Regions from separate parts of the Homo sapiens genome. Here region 1 is linked to region 2. Evidence: promoter capture Hi-C in human tissues and cell types (Jung and others, 2019). All regions are on one chromosome and are shown on one strand. Each heading gives the region's core, a stretch centred on a gene start or on the middle of the fragment in contact. The rest is flanking DNA. Distances are from core to core; before and after follow the strand shown. Region 1 overlaps PAK1 (p21 (RAC1) activated kinase 1). Region 2 holds the start of AQP11 (aquaporin 11).

Region 1 (2,700 bases), core at 77-2,576, 260 kb before region 2:
CCTGGATCTGCTACTTACCAGCTATCATGGAAAAGTTACTAAACACTTGAAACCTCAGTTTTCTCACCTGTAAAAATGAGAATAGAACCTATGACTCACAGAGTTGTTGTAAAGGACAATATATAAAGTGCTTAGTGCCTAAATATATAAAGTGTTTAGTGCCTAAAATATGGTAAAGATTCAATATAACCCATTTATTACTAGTTATATTACTATATCAGGAAGAAAACTTTAGAGGTCACTAACCTTTCAAGAACTATAATTTGGTATTTAATTAAGAATGGTATCTTTACTAATCGCAGGCTTAGCATATAGTATTTACACATTTCCCAGTGCCCACAGTTTCCAGAATACAACTCTCATGAACAGCAAAAGGGGTCCTACATTGTACTAAGAGACTTTTAGTTCCAACAGATACTAGAGACTAATGGGTTATACTTGGCAGAACCCAGATCTCATAACTAATAGGCCAGTATGCCATAATCAGTAACCTCAATTACAAAGACATGCTAAGTATGTTCCAGAGGGTGATATTCCAATGTGGGTTCTTCCAGTAATTTCATTCAATTCAATAAATATATTTTGAGTACCTATCCTGAGTCAAGTCCTAGGTAAAACATGAGACTCAGGGATTAACAAAATAGAGGTTATAATCCAATAGGAAAGAGATTCATAATTAACACAGGGCAGTATGCCCTGCCCTGCCCTGCCCTGCTCTGTCACTTCTGGGCTTCATAATACGAAAGCAAATGACAGTGCATGCCTTCATAAAGTTGCATGTGATACTTACTATTAGATCACTAGTGGGCAATACAATAAAAGAACACTAGTTATAAGAAATTGTACTTGAAACATATATGTTAAATACAAATGATGCGGCCTGCTAAAGGCAATTTTTGCAACCATATAAAATTATCAGGATTAGGCAGGCAGGAGTATAAAAGGCCTAGTAAACCCCTGACTCCGGGTTTCCCCACAAACTGGCAAAATCTCACTCTCAATAAGTAGAGTATCATTGCCATTATCTGAGGATTTCCAATGAATAAAGTGTAAAGACTCCAAAAGCCACACTCACTAATTATCTTCTAAACTTATGTTCCATGGATGGGCATGGTGGCTGATGCCATGCCTGTAATTCCAGCACTTTGGGAGACTGTGGTGGGCAGATCGTTTGAGCCCAGCCTGAGCAACATGGCAAAACCCTGTCTTTACAAAAAATAGAAAAATTAGGCAGGTATGGTGGTGCACGCCTATAGTCCCAGCTACTCTGGAGGCTGAAGTGGGAAGATCAGCAGAACCTGGGGAGGTTGAGGCTACAGTGAGCCATGATTGCGCCATGCACTCCAGCCTGGGCAACAGAGAGAGATCCTGTCTCGAAAAAACAGAGCAGAAAAACTGGAAACTCTAAAAATCAGAGCGCCTCTCCTCCTCCAAAGGAACGCAGCTCCTCACCAGCAACGGAACAAAGCTGGATGGAGAATGACTCTGACGAGTTGAAAGAAGGCCTCAGATGATCAGACTACTCTGAGCTACAGGAGGAAATTCGAATCAATGGCAAAGAAGTTAAAAGCTTTGAAAAAAAATAAGATGAATGGATAACAAGAATAATCAATGCAGACAAGTCCTTAAAGGACCTGATGGAGCTGAAAACCAAGGCACGAGAGCTACGTGACGAATGCAGAAGCCTCAGGAGCCGATGCGATCAACTGGAAGAAAGGGTATCAGTGATGGAAGACGAAATGAATGAAATGAAGCGAGAAGAGAAGTTTAGAGAAAAAAGAATAAAAAGAAACGAACAAAGCCTCCAAGAAATATGGGACTATGTGAAAAGGCCAAATCTACGTCTGATTGGTATACCTGAAAGTGACGGGGAGAATGGAACCAAGTTGGAAAACACTCTGCAGTATATTATCCAGGAGAACTTCCCCAATCTAGCAAGGCAGGCCAACATTCAAATTCAGGAAATACAGAGAATGCCACAAAGATACTCCTCGAGAAGAGCAACTCCAAGACACATAATTGTCAGATTCACCAAAGTTGAAATGAAGGAAAAAATGTTAAGGGCAGCCAGAGAGAAAGGTCGGGTTACCCACAAAGGGAAGCCCATCAGACTAAAAGCTGATCTCTCAGCAGAAACTCTACAAGCCAGAAGAGAGTGGGGGCCAATATTCAACATTCTTAAAGAAAAGAATTTTCAACCCAGAATTTCATATCCAGCCAAACTAAGCTTCATAAGTGAAGGAGAAATAAAATCCTTTACAGACAAGCAAATGCTGAGAGATTTTGTCACCACCAGGCCTGCCTTACAAGAGCTCCTGAAGGAAGCACTAAACATGGAAAGGAACAACCAGTACCAGCCACTGCAAAAACATGCCAAATTGTAAAGACCATCAAGGCTAGGAAGAAACTGCACCAACTAACGAGCAAAATAACCAGCTAACATCATAATGACAGGATCAAATTCACACATAACAATATTAACTTTAAACGTAAATGGGCTAAATGCTCCAATTAAAAGACACAGACTGGCAGACTGGATAAAGAGTCAGGACTCATCAGTGTGCTGTATTCAGGAAACCCATCTCACGTGCAGAGACACACATAGGCTCAAAATAAAGGGATGGAGGAAGATCTACCAAGCAAATGGAAACCAAAAGAAGGCAGGGATTGCAATCCTAGTCTCTGATAAAACAGACTTTA
Region 2 (2,700 bases), core at 96-2,595:
CGCCACCATGCCCGGCTAATTTTGTATTTTTAGTAGAGACGGGGGTTTCTCATGTTGGTCAGGCTAGTCTCGAACTCCCGACCTCCGGTGATCCGCCCGCCTCGGCCTCCCAAAGTGCTGGGATTATAGGCGTGAGCCACCGCGCCCAGCCGCGCCCGGTTTTTGTTGTTGTTTTTGTTTCTAAAAACAGCGTCTCGCTCTGTGGCCCAGGCAGGGGTGCAGTGGCGCGATCTCAGCTCACTGCAGCCTGGAACTCCTGGGGTCAAGCGGTCTTCCCACCTAAGCCTCTCCGTGCTGGGACTCCGGACGCGCTCCACCTCACGCAGCCGTATTCCTGCTTTCAAAGCAGATGGAAGAGGTGCGCCAGGACCCCCAGTTCTTGGAAACAGACCTCTCCAGTTACCTGTTGTTTCCTCTTCACGAAGAGTGCATGTAACAGTAAGACACAACTGTTTCATATTATACGTAAAGAGTTCATGCCAAAGGTTATAGACAGTCACATGCTAAAACTAGGCTACACTTTGAAGAATCACCGCTCAAGTTCTGGAAAAAAGAGGTGACTGTTGAACAACACTGTGAGGGTAATCGATGCCACTGAAATATACACTTAAATTGATTAAAGTGGCGAATTTTATCTGGCATATATTACCACCATTTTTAGAAATGTTTTTTGGCAGGTGAAGAAAAGCAAGGCTCCAGGAGGCCCTGCGCACCGGTCTACGCCCACTAACTCACCCGCCCCCTGCGCCGCGTCTCCCCTCTCAATTTCAGTCGCCCATTGATAAAAACGAGGTGGCTATGTGAGATGGCCTTCAGCGGTCTTTCCAGCTCCACGGTTTTACAGTGTGGAGCGGGGAAAGAAAAACTCTAAGGTCCTCGCTGCAAAGCAACCATCAGAGCTCCGCCGCGCCGTGCCGCTCCTCTCCGCCCCGTGGTCCGGGTGTCACCGCCCGCAGGGGCGCAAGGGCCGCAGCACGCGTGCGCAGTGGGCACCAAGAGCGCTGCGTCGACCGCGCCGCGCCGGCCCTCCGCCGCCGCGCCCGCCTACAAGGCCCTGAGGGAGACTGCGGAGGGTGAGTGCGCGGTGGGCTCGGCTGACCGTTGGCCCTGCGGCCGGCGCCCTAGGCTACCTCCCTTCGCCTCCCCGCGCCTCCCCGCGCCTCCCCGCCTCCCCGCCTCCCCGCCTCCTCGGCTCTGGTTCCAACACCCCAGCGCCAAGCCGGGGAGGCGGGGAGGACTTCTTAAGTGTGCCGCTCGGGAGCCTCCCGCTCGTCCCGCCCCGAGGGGCGTGAGGAGGGGAGGGGCTGCGGACTTCGGACTCGGGCCTGGAGACCGCCTCCTACCCAGAGCCGGAGCCCGCAACCCGCTCAGGCGGCGACGGAGCCATGTCGCCGCTGCTGGGGCTCCGGTCCGAGCTGCAGGACACCTGCACCTCGCTGGGACTGATGCTGTCGGTGGTGCTGCTCATGGGGCTGGCCCGCGTAGTCGCCCGGCAGCAGCTGCACAGGCCGGTGGCCCACGCCTTCGTCCTGGAGTTTCTAGCCACCTTCCAGCTCTGCTGCTGCACCCACGAGCTGCAACTGCTGAGCGAACAGCACCCCGCGCACCCCACCTGGACGCTGACGCTCGTCTACTTCTTCTCGCTTGTGCATGGCCTGACTCTGGTGGGCACGTCCAGCAACCCGTGCGGCGTGATGATGCAGATGATGCTGGGGGGCATGTCCCCCGAGACGGGTGCGGTGAGGCTATTGGCTCAGCTGGTTAGTGCCCTGTGCAGCAGGTACTGCACAAGCGCCTTGTGGAGCTTGGGTCTGACCCAGTATCACGTCAGCGAGAGGAGCTTCGCTTGCAAGAATCCCATCCGAGTCGACTTGCTCAAAGCGGTCATCACAGAGGCCGTCTGCTCCTTTCTCTTCCACAGCGCTCTGCTGCACTTCCAGGAAGTCCGAACCAAGCTTCGTATCCACCTGCTGGCTGCACTCATCACCTTTTTGGTCTATGCAGGTTTGTCATTCTCACCAAATACTTGGCACTTCCAGAGCCTCTATGACATGAGGCTGTAAGTTCTTTACTAAAATACATTTGAAACCGTCTATCCCGCTATGATGTAAATGCTGGTATCCCCGTTATTCTAACCATTTTGCAGCCCGTTCTTAACCAGTAGGGCCGACACGTAGAGCCTTCATGCAGTGCTGCTTTGAACACCCAGAGAAAGGAGCCACCTCTGTGCTGAAACTGAGATACTGTGAGATATTGCCAAGGGTTCAGATATCCTACAAAGGGATTGTTTTAATGGTAGAAAGGAAAGATAACTTATTAACTGCCTCTTTCTTCATGCCAAGGTGGTATAGATCGTTTCGGATACTCTTACTGAAAAATGATCCTGGCTTTACAAAGTTCCTTTCGATTTAAAGCACAAGGCACATGATTGGTTAGTATAAGAGCGGAGGGTAGAAATTTTGTAGTTCCATTTTAGTCCTATAAATGATTTAAAGTCATTTCTTATTTCCTTAATAATTCATTTTGAGTTATGAAATTTCTTATTTCCTTAATAATTCATTTTGAGTTATACATGAACTTTTAAGTGACCTATTAAGAAAAATGTTTAAATGATAACTTGCTTCAAATTAAAGATGCTTTTTAAAATATAACTCTTGAGAAATCTGTTGATTTCTTTTAAACCATTTGTTTACTTTGACA

The links. The method cuts DNA at HindIII sites, captures the fragments that hold promoters and counts their contacts. A contact is called where the count stands out against the background at its distance.
Region 1: a contact is called between a fragment that was not itself captured here and the fragment with the promoter of AQP11 in region 2, in 1 of the 25 tissues and cell types used here (small bowel).

Annotation. Positions count from the first base shown.
Region 1 is chr11:77,325,310-77,328,009 of GRCh38, forward strand. All of the region lies in intron 14 of PAK1 (p21 (RAC1) activated kinase 1), which reads right to left. Among named protein-coding and RNA genes, the nearest start is that of GDPD4, 25 kb to the left of the region's middle. The HindIII fragment of the contact is 3,689 bases long and covers 1-2,700 here.
Region 2 is chr11:77,588,608-77,591,307 of GRCh38, forward strand. It overlaps AQP11 (aquaporin 11), which reads left to right and starts at 1,346. Exons shown (of 3, transcript NM_173039.3): 1 at 1,346-2,004. The coding sequence starts at 1,386. RefSeq lists a silencer at 693-1,322. The HindIII fragment of the contact is 8,161 bases long and covers 1-2,700 here.